Regions from separate parts of the Homo sapiens genome. Here all the other regions are linked to region 1. The links are contacts of gene promoters, found by promoter capture Hi-C in human tissues and cell types (Jung and others, 2019). All regions are on one chromosome and are shown on one strand. The core of a region is centred on a gene start or on the middle of the fragment in contact, and the rest is flanking DNA. Distances in the headings are between cores, read along the strand shown.

Evidence for each region. The method cuts DNA at HindIII sites, captures the fragments that hold promoters and counts their contacts. A contact is called where the count stands out against the background at its distance.
Region 2: a fragment that was not itself captured here is called in contact with the fragment with the promoter of ZNF346 in region 1 in 1 of the 25 tissues and cell types used here (dorsolateral prefrontal cortex).
Region 3: a contact is called between a fragment that was not itself captured here and the fragment with the promoter of ZNF346 in region 1, in 1 of the 25 tissues and cell types used here (IMR-90 fibroblasts).

Annotation. Positions count from the first base shown.
Region 1 is chr5:177,020,444-177,025,145 of GRCh38, reverse strand. It overlaps ZNF346 (zinc finger protein 346), which reads right to left and starts at 2,450. Exons shown (of 7, transcript NM_012279.4): 1 at 2,233-2,450. The coding sequence starts at 2,407. It also overlaps a transcript of UIMC1 not described here. RefSeq lists enhancers at 1,672-2,208, 2,636-2,685, 2,209-2,746 and a silencer at 2,086-2,235. The HindIII fragment of the contact is 9,260 bases long and covers 1-4,702 here.
Region 2 is chr5:176,695,634-176,700,335 of GRCh38, reverse strand. No RefSeq gene overlaps it. Among named protein-coding and RNA genes, the nearest start is that of LINC01574, 45 kb to the left of the region's middle. RefSeq lists enhancers at 1-558, 2,205-3,028. The HindIII fragment of the contact is 6,715 bases long and covers 1-4,702 here.
Region 3 is chr5:177,277,202-177,281,903 of GRCh38, reverse strand. It overlaps NSD1 (nuclear receptor binding SET domain protein 1), which reads right to left. Exons shown (of 23, transcript NM_022455.5): 18 at 1,070-1,339. Among named protein-coding and RNA genes, the nearest start is that of RAB24, 24 kb to the left of the region's middle. The HindIII fragment of the contact is 7,633 bases long and covers 1-4,702 here.

The DNA of each region.
Region 1 (4,702 bases), core at 1,201-3,700:
GTTGCCTAGGGCAGGAGGTGGGAGTGGGGATTTAATATAAATGAGCTCAAAGGAACTAATTGGGGTGACGGAAATGTTCTAAAAGTGGACTGTGGTAATGGCTATACAACTCTGTACACTGGCTAACAATCACTGGCGATATGCTTACAATGGGTGACTTGTATGGTATATAAATTGTAACTCACATGAAGGTGCTAAGAGTAGAAAAAGGGTGAGTAGAACTTAATGTTGTAGGTGTCTACCTAGATTTCACATAAATGTGGGAGAAGTGAGAACAGGGAAATGAAATGGGTCATAACAGTGCCACTATACACTCATATACACATAGCAGACAGTTCACTTTTCAGAGCACAGTGGTTTTCTGCTTCAAGATCCAGGGCAAAGGTCACTTTCTTCTTGTGCACCTCCAACTCTTAAAACATTCCTCAGCACTGCATCCTTTACATTACACTGGAACTGTTTTGGTGTCTGCTTCCTGGACTAGACTGCAAGCCTTTCCAGGGCAAGGGCAGTATCTTCCTCTGATACTCCAGCTCTGAAGCTCAACCAGTTCCGGGTCCAGAGCAGGCATCAGTGAGTGTTTGTCAAGTTAATGAAAGGAAAATTGGGGTAGGGGAGGAAACTACCAAACAAGTGTGAAAGTAGGAGAGCCGGGTGCGGTGGCTCATGCCTGTAATCCCAGCACTTTGGGAGGTCAAGGCGGGCAGATCACTTGAGGTCAGGAGTTCGAGAACAGCCTGGCCAACATGGTGAAACCCCATCTCTACTAAAAATACAAAAATCAGCTGAGCGTCATGGCAGCAGCCTGTAATCCCAGCTACTCCGGAGGCTGAGGCAGTATAGAATTGCTTGAACCCAGGAGGCGGAGGTTGCAGTGTGATTGTGCCACTGCACTCCAACCTGGGTGACAGAGTGAGACTCTCTCAAAAAAAAAAAAAAAAAAAAGGAGAGAGGGCCCCAGAAATAGTGTGTGTGTGTGTGTGTGTGTATACATAAAATACTTACAAGTGTATATAAAAATATATATACAGATTTATGTGTGTATATATTATATATATACATTTATGTGTGTGTATATTATATATACGCATACACACACACCATTTCTGGGGCCCTGTCTCCTTCTTTTTTATATATAATATACATTATATATATATATAAACTTAGGAGACAGGCTAGACTTGTTTTTAAATTGGAGAAGTATATACCAGGGTATAGGTCTGTGTACCTTCCTTAGATATGGTCAAAATTTCAATTTTATCCAATTTTATCCAGGGCAGTCAGTTCACAAATAGCATATTAAACTTTCGAAGACAAGTCTGCTCAGCAAGCAAACAAATCACTGGAGAAATCTGATTTCCCTCCAGATACCTGACAAGGTTAGCAGAGAAGCCCAGATAGAGTTCTTGTACATCTGGGTTAGCATCAAGCAGCTGGCTCTGTAAAGGACAGTGAAGGGAGTCACACAAGCAGGTCAGGACAGCTCTTTTCCATCCTTCTCTTTCTTTCATCCCATCTTACCCAGTCTCAGGTCAAGTGCAGAGCAAGCTGGGGCGCTTCGGCCCAGGAGTGACCCCTAACGTGGCTTTGCATACACTGTTCTCAGCAACTTTGGGTCAAGTGTAGGACACAAAGAAGCTGGAGCCAAAGCAAACCCAGACCAGTTTCTCAGGCTCCTTGTCCCCACCTTAGAATAAGGGACCCAGCAAGTAGAGGCCAGAGAGCTAAAAACGGGTAAGCCAGGGCTCAGTCATCAAGACCAGGAGGAACCCAGGGGGTAAGGAGAAGGCCTTCCAGAGCCCTCGGAAGTGTGGGGCTTGAGAGAAGGGAGGCGAGAGGCCCTAGGAGGAAATCTGGAGATTGGGACGATGGGGAGTCAAGGAGTGGTGAGGGGCACTCGGCTTGGCTTACCGGGATGGCAAAGACTGTAGGTCTCCGACAGGACGAGTATAGGGATGACAGTCCTCGAATGTGGGAAAAACTGCGCTGTAGTGAATGATGAAGGAGGAGGAGGAAAACCCAGGGCCTGAGCGTGAGCGGCCCTTCACCCTCAGCGCGCTGGGGGCCCGATTCTTGGGGTGCCCGCGCCCGGATGGGGAGCACAAGTCTGGGGGTCCCGGGGCGCAGCACGCAAGGAGGCGGGCCAGGGGGTGTGACCGTCGGCGCTTCCGCAGTTCCCCGCGAGCCGCGCAGCGGGCGAGGGGCTTTCTGCCTCCAAAGCCCCCGACTCACCTTCCTCTCTACCCACCGGCTGGGCACCGGACACGGCTTCCCACAGGCGGCGCGCCCTCTCGCGGTCAAAGCGCACCCCGTCCGGCTCCTGGCCCTCCAGCAACTCCGAGCTGCTGTAAGGCCCGGCCGCTCCGCCGTCCGCGGCCTGCACCGTGGCCGGCGCGGGATACTCCATCTTCCCCGCAAACCCTCACCGGTAGAGAGCCTCTCAGGCGCCTAGGTATCGCGAGATTTGGTGGGTGGTACTTGGCCCAGCCAACAAATCTCGCGAGGTTTGGGCGCTGCACCCGCGCTGCCGTGCGGGACCCCGCGCTTATTTTGCTTTGCTACCTCTGGTACCTCAGAGCGTGTGCCGTGGATTCGGAAACCTGTCGCTGATTCCGCAGCAGTGACCCCCCCCTCCCGGAGAGGCTCGTGTGGTTTTGGCTCATGGCTCTCACCTTGCTCACGGTCAGCCCTTGATACTTTTCATTTCGTTCTCAAGGTCCCGTTATGTGGGAGTGTTTTCGCCATTTCATTCACAGGGAAACTGAGGCCCAGAACCTAAAAATGGTTAACTCAAGAGCTCGCTACTAGTAAGTAGTAGTACAGCTAAGGTTCCATATTACTGCTAATAATACATACTATTTGTTGAGTTCCAAGTGCCAGCTCCCAGCTCTGATCTTCCCCGAGACTCCGGACCTGTATACATCCAGTTGCCTCTTCCACAGTTCACTCGAATGGCTAATAGGCTTCTCCAATGTAGCTGTCAGACCCCAAATTTTATCTTCCAACCCCAGAGCTGCTCCTTCCCGTGTCTTTGGGAGCCACCATCTCTTGCCTAGGTTATTGTAGTAGCAACCTCACTGGCATTCCCAGCACAGCAGTTCCAGGAATCCTCTTATGACAAGTCAGATCATGACGCTTAGGTTCTCAAATCCTCCAACAGCTTCCCATCTCACTCTTAGTAAAAGCCAAAGTCCGGCCAGGCGCGGTGGCTCACGCCTGTAATCCCAGCACTTTGGGAGGCTAAGGGGGGGCGGATCACCTGAGGTCCGGAGTTCGAGACCAGCCTGACCAACATGGAGAAACCCCGTCTCTACTAAAAATACAAAATTAGACGGGTGTGGTGGCACATGCCTGTAATCCCATCTACTCGGAGGCTGAGCCAGGAGAATGGCTTGAACCCGGGAGGCAGAGGTTGCTGTGAGCCGAGCTGGCGCCATTGCACCCCAGCCTGGGCAACAAGAGCGAAACTCCGACTAAAAAAAAAAAAAGCCAAAGTCCTTACTTCGACCAACAAGGCCCTGTACAATCTGACTTCCCTTAACCTCCCTGATCCTGATGTGTTACTCAGTCCCCAACTCCTTAATTCCTGTCCCAGTTATCCAGGCCTCCTGGGGTGAATTTCTCTCATATATCTTCATGGCTCAGTCTCCCACTTCCTTCTCTGGCTACTCTATCTAAAATACCTTGTCTGGCTATCCCATCTAAAATGTTACTTTTCCACACACACTTCATGTCCTTCTTTCCTGCTTTATTTCTTTTATATTTTACCTTTTATCTTGCTTATTGTCTGTCTCCCGACTAGAAGGCAAGCCCCAGGAAGGCAGGGATTTTTGTCTCTTTTCTTTTCTTTCTTTTTTTAAATTGTTTTTGAGGCAGAGTTTTGCTCTGTCGCCAGGTTGGAGTGCAGTGACGCGATCTCGGCTCACTGCAGCTTCCGTCTCCCGGGTTCAAGCAATTCTCCAGCCTCAGCCTCCTGAGTAGCTGGGATTACAGGCACATGCCACGGCACCCAGCTAATTTTTATATTTTTGGTAGAGACGGGGTTTCACTATGTTAGCTAGGCTGATCTCAAACTCCTGATCTCATAATCTGCCTGCCTCGGGCTCCCAAAATGCTGAGATTACAGGCACATGCCACCTTGCGTAGCCTTTTGTCTCTTGTCATTGCACCTGAATCTCCAGCACTTTGAAATAGAACCTGGACCCTCCTAGGTATATACAAAACATTTGTTTAATGAATGAAGCTTTTAATATTACTAGCTTATTTCAACCTCATTTTTTCAAATACTTATGGAGAATTTACTATGAGCTAGATGATATTTTGAGCATGGAAATATAGTGGTGAACAAGACAGGGAAGCTGTAGTAAAGTATTTTTTATTGTAGTGGAGGAGAGTACAATAAGAAAGTTAACAGTAGGCCTGGCGCAGTGGCTCATGCCTGTAATCCAGCACTTTGGGAGGCCGAGGCAGGTGGATCACGAGGTCAGAAGATCAAGACCATCCTGGCTAACATGGTGAAACTCCGTTTCTACTAAAAATACAAAAAAATTAGCCGGGCGTGGTGGCGGGCGCCTGTAGTCCCAGCTACTCGGGAGGCTGAGGCAGGAGAATGGTGTGAACCCAGCAGGCGGAGCTTGCAGTGAGCCGAGATCGTGCCACTGCACTCCATCCTGGGCAACAGAGCGAGACTCCATCTCAAAAA
Region 2 (4,702 bases), core at 1,333-3,832, 320 kb after region 1:
CCCCAATTTCAGATTCGAATCCAGGTCTCCAGAAGTGAGTGTGAAGAAAACGCCTAAATTAAAATGCTAATTACCGTCTCCGCAATTCGTAACCAGACAGTCGCTTGTGTCTATTATTAACAGCTCCCGCCGCAGCCTCGGCTCGCCCAGAGACACGGATGATTTAAAGATTCAGGTGCAAGAGAAAATAGCATGAAGCCATGTATGTGTGGTGGAGCGCAGCTGGCGCCGGTGCCACACCCACTCTGCCCAGAGGTGACGAGGGCATGGGCCACCCAGGCCCCTTCCTGGGTGGAAACTTGGGAAGTGGATAGATCAGCCGGACCAACAAGATAAGGTCAACCCTGGTGTTTAAAATACCTGCAGAGGCCAGGTGTGGTGGCTCACGCCTGTAATCCCAGCACTTTGGGAGGCCAAGGCAGGTGGATCACCTGAAGTCAGGAGTTCGATACCAGCCTGGCCAGCATGGCGAAACCCTGTGTCTACTGAAACAAACAAACAAAAAAATGAAAAAATTAGCTGGGCATAGTGGCCTGTGCCTGCTTGTAATCCCAACTACATGAGAGGCTGAGGCAGGAGAATTGCTTGAACCTGGGAGGTGGAGGTTGCAGTGAGCAGAGATTGCACCACTGCACTCCAGCCTGGGCAACAGAGTGAGACTCCGTCTCAAGTAAATAAATAAATAAATAAATAAATAAATAAATAAATACCTGCAGAGCCCTCTATGGCTCCCAGAGGACCTCCATATTTTCTTAATTAAACCCCAGGGTTTAGAGAGCGTAGGAGTTTGAGCTCTGATCCCCAGGCAGGAAGAGGGCCAGGTAAGATTCCACCCTGGGCATGAAGCCCTCCCCGCCACTGGCGGTTCCTGGGATCCGGGACTGCCCAGGTACACAGTGAAGGAGGGAAGGGTTTGCCTGTGGGGAAAATGTGGCCCGTGGGCTGCCTGTTCCCACTGAGCCATGCTCCACTGTCACATGGCCTCCAGAAATCAGACAGAACTGGTCTCCAGGGAGGCCTTGGGTCTTGGCAATGCCCATGGAAGGTACCCAGGCCGAGTGCTGAGGCAGCGGGAGACAGCAGGGAAGGAATAAAGGAGGAATGTGTGACACCCAGTAGAACGGCCGAGCCAGAAAATACCCAAGTGTTCACTCTTCTGTGTTCACTGTGGGCGCACAGGGTGGCCGCACTGCCTGATAAGGACAGAGGCGGGTTTAGATCTCCTCCATAAACTCACTGTCCAGATGCACAGAGGCCACAAGGCCGCGTCCCCCACACATCGTCCTGTAAAGCTGCTGCCACAGTAGCCCCATCGCACCCTGAGATGACCTCGTCCCGCATCTGTGGGCTTGGGATGGGGTCTGCTTGGTGTCCCTAAAACATGGCTCCAGACGCAGAGGGTGCCCTGTGATGTCTTACCGAACCAGTGAATAAATATGTTAGATGCTCTGCCTGAACAGCTTCACACAGGCCTGGGCCGGCTCCTGCCAGCTTCTAGGAGCCAACTGTTAAATATTCAAGATTCATGGCTTTAGTTGTTCAACAATTAGTAGCTTGAGTCAGCCAGGGTGAGAGTATTTACACCACAGCCATCAGCAAAGGCTCCCAGTCCAGGCTGTTTTCTACCCAGCCCCACCCCAAGCAAAACACCAAAAGCCAATCTTCTTAATCTGAGTTAATCTCCTTCACCTGCAAAATCTTCCAAATGCAGGGAAAGTTGAAACACCTCCTGCAGTAGGTCCTGTTCTGTTTCCTCTGATGCTTTAGTTCCTATCTTTTCAGCCACCTCCGGCAAGCCCCAGGGCCCCTTGGAGCTGGTGCCAGAAGAGTTCATTCCCATCACCTCCTCACTCCCTTCCTCAACGCACCACCTGTTCTGCTCGGGCTCTGGCCCCAGGTGGGGTATAAACACCCCCAGTGATAAATGGCCCGGCAAGCAGCAGTGCCGGTGACGCCGGAGCCCTCTGCTCCCTCCACCACCTGTTCTGTCCCAGCTGGAGGGAGGGGTGCTGGAGGAGGGGGCTTCCATCTGAGTCAGAATCATTCATCCTAAGTAATTAGCTGCCAAAGAGAATGCAAACCTGCAGCCGAGGAGCAGAGGTCTCCCCCCAGCCAGCTTCTCCAAACTCCTCCTGCCCCAGACTTGCCTCCGGAGGCAGCTGGGAGAGCTGGAAACCTGAGGAGGCCAGAAAACCATCTGCCAGGGCTCAGGTCTCTTTGCAGATCAAAAGCTAAGCCACTCCTTTCAAGACTGCCTCTGTCAGGCCCTGCCTTGTCCAACCCACAGCTTCCCTCCCAAGGCTGCTGTGCTGGGCCTCTCTCATCCTCTCCTGAGCTGTATTGGTTGAGTTGTATTGGTTACCTGCGCCTAAGGCATCTCAGCCCAGGGCAAGCAAAGGCTGCGCATCATCACCCACTGAGTCAGGCCCTGATCTTGGACCCAAGTGTGGGTAACTGTGTTTGGGTTGTGCCTGATGCCCAGGCCCCATCTTCTGCCCATTTTGGTGCCTTCCCCCATAGCAGGCAATGTAGGTGCCCACTGCAGTGTATGCCAGCCCAACCTCCAGCCACCAGCGCCTGCGACCACATTTCTTTGCCCGAGACCTTTCTCTGCCATCTGGATGCCACTCTGCCCATGTTGCCACGGGCCAGAGTGCTGGAAAATAGGGCCCCCCGAGAGAGGCCATCAGCCAGTAACTGATAGGAGCTGGTGTCTAGGTGCCCATAACCCTCCCCTTGTGTGGGGTACTCTCAGGCACGCTGTCCACACTGAGCCCAGCCCTGCAGGATGGAGCTGTGGTTGCCCACAGTTGGAACTCACTGAGAGCGCTCCCTCTCCTGGCTGCTCCTTTCCCTTTCCCATTCCCCTACCACCTCCCAAATTAACTACTTGTATGGGAAACCTTGTCTCAGGGTTCGCTTCCAGGGGGATGCAAACTAAGGCTGCCTCCTTCCAATGCATGACTGAGCACCTGCTGTGTTCCAGGTGCTGCAGCGAGAAAAGGACACAGGTGTGCAGGCTGTGCCCTGGGCTGGGCCCATGTGGGAGGATAGGCAATGGACAAGGAATCAAATCATATCCTCTTACATGGTCTTAAACACAATGATGAAAATGCAACCGGATGATGGCAGTGATGGGGAAGAGTTTGTTTTAGAGGAAGAGAGGGCAGATAGGGAAGAGCGGATCTCTCCAAGGGAGGGTCAGCCATGCAGAGAGCTGCGGGAAGAAGATTCCAGGCAGAGAGAACGGCAAATGCAAAGGCTGTGTGGTGGGAGTGAGCATGGTCGGTTTAGGAACACATAGAAGGCATTGTGGTAGGAAGGAGGTGTGCCAGGAGAAGGTGGAAGAAGTGAGGTAGAAAGAAACGCTGAGGCTGGACCTGGTGGGCCCCTGCAGAGCATGAAAAAGAGTCTGTGGGTTCAGGAGCACGGGAAATCTTGGGCAGGGTTGAGAGGGGAGGAGGAGGTTTGCTCAGCACCACAGAGCATCGCTCAGCCTGCTGCGTGGAGACTGGGTGGAGCAGGGGCAGGAGTGGATTACAGAGGCACCTGGGGCTCCCCCCCGTCATCTAAATGGGAGACGTTGGTGCTTGGAGCAACTCCGTGTTCTCTGCAGGTGAACCTTCCATTTGAAAACCTGCCCTTTCTCTGCTGAGGACCAGTCCCTGGCCTGTGAGTGCCATTCCCCAGGCCCCTCCAGGTTGGGGGTGACCTCCAAACCTCAGGCTAATGCCTGCTTCCTTGTTCCCTCTGGAGTCCCCCACAATGCCACATGTCCCCGCCCACCACCTGCCCAGGGAACATCCTTGCTCCCCATGACTGGGCATCACTAGGGGCCTCCCAGCTTTTGCCTGCTCCACAAGTGAGCAAGTGTCATTCCAGATCGAAGCACCACTGCCACCCCGACCCTGCCTTCCCCAGTCCAGCCCCCAGAATGGCCCCTCCCAGGGCCCAGGGCAATGATCATTTAGTGGCACCATGGGCTCGCAGCAGCTTTCCCTGAGTTCCTCAGAACACATTAACTACATTATTTTTCACTCAATATCCATCAAGAAACCCTTGAGAGAGCTGAAGGACGTGGCTTAGCCCTAGTTTACAGATGGGTTGTACAAATAGAAAGGTTTCCACATTTTTCAGGAGCACCGAGGAACAGAGCCTTGGTGAATCCTAAACTGGCATCAATCACAAATGGGCACAGTTAGGGGAAGAGTTGTAAGCCTTGTATGGAAACCAGGTTTGGGGCCTTGCTGCCTGCCTCTGCTGGGGAACAGACACCACAGACCCAGAGACCCCGCAGACCCCTGCTGGGGGACTAGGGGAGAGCTTGCTCTTGCTCTCTCAGGAGGGCCCCGGGTTACCTGCCGGGCTGGCCCCATCCTGCTTCAGTACTGAGCTTTACTGTATAACTCTAATGCTCAGGGCATGGTGGCACACGCCTGTAATCCCAGCATTTAGGGAGGCCAAGGTGGGAGGATTGCTTGAGCCCAGGAGTTCAAGACCAGCCGGCAATCTCTCTTTTGTAGAGATAGGGAGTCCCTATCTCTACAAAACATATGAAAATTAGTCAGGCATGATGACATACACCTGTGGTCCCACCTACTTGGGAGGCTAAGTCAGGAGGATTGCTTGAGCCCAGGGGGTTGAGGCTGCAGTGAACCAAGATCGTGCCACTGCACTCTAGCCTGGGCAACGCAGCAAGACC
Region 3 (4,702 bases), core at 1,200-3,699, 260 kb before region 1:
CTCTGGGAGGATAATTTGAGCCCAGGAGTTTAAGTCCAGCCTGGGCAACATGGTTAGACCTCACCTCCACAAAAAATACAAAAATTAGCCAGGCGTGGTGATGCGAGCCTGTAGTCCCTGCTACTCAGGAGGCTGAGATGGGAGGATCACTTGAGCCTGGAAGTTGAAGGTTGCAGTGAGCGGAGATGGCACCAGTGCGCTCCAGTTTGGGCGACAGAGTGAGACCCTCTCTCAAAAAATAAATAAAATAAAATATAATATCATCAGAGACAAACTAGTTTCAGTTCCTTTGTCACACATCTCTAGAGCCCTTTATACTTTCACACTGGGAGATGATTTGTTCAATATTTCTCTCCCTCCGAAATGTAAATTTTATGAAAGTATAGGCCATATCTCTCGTCTTGGTTAGTGCATCCCCAGCACAATACCTGGCACATACAGTAAATATAAAAATAACTACTTAGCAAATGACTAAACGCCAACCCATATACACTACATTTCCTGGAAACCAATAAAATTCTTCAGAAAATGTAACCAGAATAAGGCTTATTTTATTAAAAAAAAAAAAAAGACTATACAATATTATTTATTTATTAGAAACTTAGAGATCCTGCCAAGTTTTAAGTTGAAGACATGACTGCATTTTCATCCAATAAGGCTTAACCTTCTTATCCTTCATGTTTCATGAAGCCAGACCTGTTTTTTCCTCACTAAAAATGTTTTATTAGTAGGTGGATCAATGTCTCTGTATCATGTGCTCACTGTCATCTCTCTTAATTACCAGCTGTAGGATATTCACAAAAAAGCAAACAAAGCCATAGCATCTCTATGAATGTCCCATTTTTTCCAACCTCCTACACAGTGACCATGATCAATACAAAGGACTTGGGAGATCAAAACCATCCATTCGTAAGCCTCTAAACGGTAGAAGGATATGGCAAGACACAACAATAAGGTTAATTATTAACTGTGTTATTTTCTTCTATGATGAATTTTCTAATGTCAAGGATCAATGATATCAAGCAACTGCAAAGAGGAGAAAGTATATGGTAATTTAGCTTTTTCTAACCTTTTTAATATCTGTTTTTGTCCGTAGACCCCAACCCCGCTGTAATGTGCGGAAAATTTCAACCTCTGGATATTGGCGCTTGGAAAAGCACTGGTTTTGACAGCGCCCTCCGGCAGGACACACTGTGGGGTGGCACTCATAGAGCAGCATGCGGTTGATGCATTCAGAGTCTATCCCACAGGGGTTCTCATCAGTAGCTTTACAGTTGCAACGGGGTATTTCAGATAAGTCTGCAGTGAAGATCTGTACCCTGCCAATAGGACGGTTTACCTGGAAAAGTAACACAAAGTACACCGCATAAAACAAGTCAGCAGAAGACAATTCACGTCCTGAAAAAGGCAAACTTTTTTTCCTTGAAGTTGCAGCCACATTTCCCATGATTTTGAACTATCAACACTTAGTTTCATATAAAAACAGAGCCTCACTTGACATACAAAATATGAACTCCACAAGAATTGCTTGAACCCAGGAGGCGGAGGTTGCAGTGAGACAAGATTTCACCACTGCACTCCAGCCTGGCCGATATGTTGAGATTCCATCTCAAAAAAATAAAATACGAGCCAGGTACGGTGGCTCACGCCTGTAATCCCAGCACTTTGGGAGGCCGAGGCAGGTGGATTACGAGGTCAGGAGATTGAGACCATCCTGGCTAACACGGTGAAACCCCGTCTCTACTAAAAATACAAAAAATTAGACAGGTGTGGTGGTGGGCGCCTGTAGTCCCAGCTACTTGGGAGGCTGAGCTTGCAGTGAGCCTAGGTCGTGCCACTGCACTCCAGCCTGGGCAACAGAGTGAGACTCGGTCTCTCGGTCACAAAAAATAAAATAAAATAAAATAAAATAAAATAAAATAAAATAAAATAAAATAAAATATGAACTTTAAAAATTTTTTTGAAATTCATTTTAAAAAATAATTTCAGCCGCGCCTGGTGGCTCACACCTGTAATCCCAGCACTTTGGGAGGCCGAGGCAGGTGGATCACGAGGTCAGGAAATCAAGACCATCCTGGCTAACACGGTGAAACCCCGTCTCTACTCAAAATACAAAAAAATTAGCCAGGCGTGGTGGCGGGCACCTGTAGTCCCAGCTACTCAGGAGGCTGAGGCAGGAGAATGGTGTGAAACTGGGAGGCAGCGGAGCTTGCAGAGATCGCGTGACTGCACTCCAGCCTGGGTGACAGGGCGAGACTCCGTCTCAAAAAAAAAAAAAAAAAAAAAAAAAAAATTTTCAAAGCTGATAAGCCAGGTGAACTATAAACTAGGTTTCTGCTATTGCCACATGTTGGTGTCACATTTGCTGCTACAAAAAAATAGGCATTATTCTTCCTTCCTTTTTTTGAGAGGGAGTCTAGCTCTGTTGCCCAGGCTGCAGTGCAGTGGCGGGATCTTGGCTGACTGCAACCTCTGCCTCCTGGGTTCTAGCCATTCTACTGCCTCAGCCTCCCAGGTAGCTGGGACTATAGGCACACACCACCAAGCCCGGCTAATTTTTGTATTTTTAGGAAAGATGGAGTTTCACTATGTTGGCCAGGCTGGTCTCGATCTCCTGACCTTGTGATCTCCTGACCTCAGGTGATCTGCCCGCCTCGGTCTCTGAAAGTGCTGGGATTATAGGTGTGAGCCACCACACCTGGCAAAAGCACTGTTCTTAAGTGGCAAATAAATGGCATGAAATCATCTGTGTGTAATTTGAGTTCCTCTATGCTTCCTGCATCAGCCTCACAAGTAGTTGGGACTACAGGCAGGTATCACCACACCCAGCTTATAATTTAAAATCTTTTAAAAGGACTATAGCAATGTCACTCATGGATTAATTTAGAAGTGGTGCTAGTGCTCAAAAACACAGTGAAAGTTTGGTGAGTTAAAACATGAAGGTCAAACAGTTATTGTGACACCAAAGCCATTAATGTAGAGGTTTTAACAAATACTAGCAACAATAAGGAAAGACAATAGATGTTCCAGTACAATAATGGATTTGTGCATGAGAATGTATCTCCCCTCATTTCATATTATTTCAGTGGGAACAGTCAAATTTAGTCTTCTAAGACACAAACCGCACAAAAAATTTTGACTGTTCAGGAACTGTGTGATTTTGAATAAATTACTTGCAAGACTATTGTAAGAATAAGAAATATATGTATAGTACAGCACCTAGCTGCCTCTTAAACATGGTAGACATATTAAATTCTTTCTTCCTTTCTTATATAATGCCCTTATGATTGTTTCTCTCATATCAAATATTCTAGATTACTCATTCCAGTACACCTAAAATCACTTACTTAAAAGTCATTTCTGTCCTCTAAATTTTCAAATGCTTTCATTTCTTGCATTTTATTATTTGCCCACTCCCCTTTAATATTATGAAATCTACAATCTGGATATATGCTGCCATCAAACCATTTTTCTATCAACATTTAACAGGAGGAGGCCAGGTGCAGTGGCTCACATCTGTAATCCCAGCACTTTCGGAGGCTGAGACTGGAGGATTGTTTGAGCCCAGAAGTTCAAGACCAGACCAGGCAACACAATGAAACCCTATGTCTACAAAAAAATTATAAAGCTTAGCCGGGCATGGTGGCAAGTGCTTGAGGTTCCAGCTACTCAGGAAGCTGCAGTGGGAGGATCGTATAGACCTGCAAGACACTCCAGCAAGATGCTGTCCGTGGGGAAAATGGATGTAGGTCTCACTGCCAGATCTGTTCCTAGATTCATCAAAACACTGGTAAGGTTTGGAAACTTCTTGCTAATGGAGAAATATCCCCAACACATGCAACTGGAAGCCATAAGGCATAAGGCTTACAATGTCTAAGGCAAATTCTAAGGGGACAGACAACAACAGCTAATCTCAGTCACCCAAGACTACAAGTCCTGAATAGGGCATTTGAACATTCACTTCTGATTCGAAATATTTTTACTTGAACCCTTCCCAAATACACATAAAGGTTCATGCTACTTCTTTTCTCTCTACAAATATATATTTGTTTTTGTTTTGAGACAGGGTCTTACTCTGTCCCCCAGACTGGAGTGCAGTAGTGCAATCACAGCTCACTGCAGCGTTGACTTTCCAGGCTCAGGTGATTCAGGTAGCTGGGACAACAGGCACCCCAAATTTTTTTTTTTCTTTGTATTTTTTGTAGAGACTGGGTTTTGCTATGTTGCCCAGGCTGGAAAATATATGTTTTAATCATTGTTTCTTATCAACTGATCTAACCTGTTATTAATCCAAAAATAAGTTTTGTACTTATCACATCGTAAACCAAAAGCAAACCAAAACAAATCCCACATGGTTAAGAACAAAGACATGGATATGTAATTCTAAGTAAATCTCACTATAGATCAGGAGTTAAGTAACTTTTTCTGTAAAGGGTCAGAAAGTAAACACTTCAGGCTTTGCAGGCCATAGATCTCCACATGTAGCTCGACTCTGCCACTGTAATATAAAAGCAGCCATATGTAATATGTAAATGAAGAAGCATGCCTGTATTCCAATAAAATTTTCTGGATACTGATTGAAAGTTGAATTTCATATCATCTTTATGTGTCACAAAATCTCTTTTTTGCCAATCACTAAAAAATACAAAAACAACCTGTAGTTCAAGAGTATTACAAGAATAGGCAGTAGACCACATTTGCC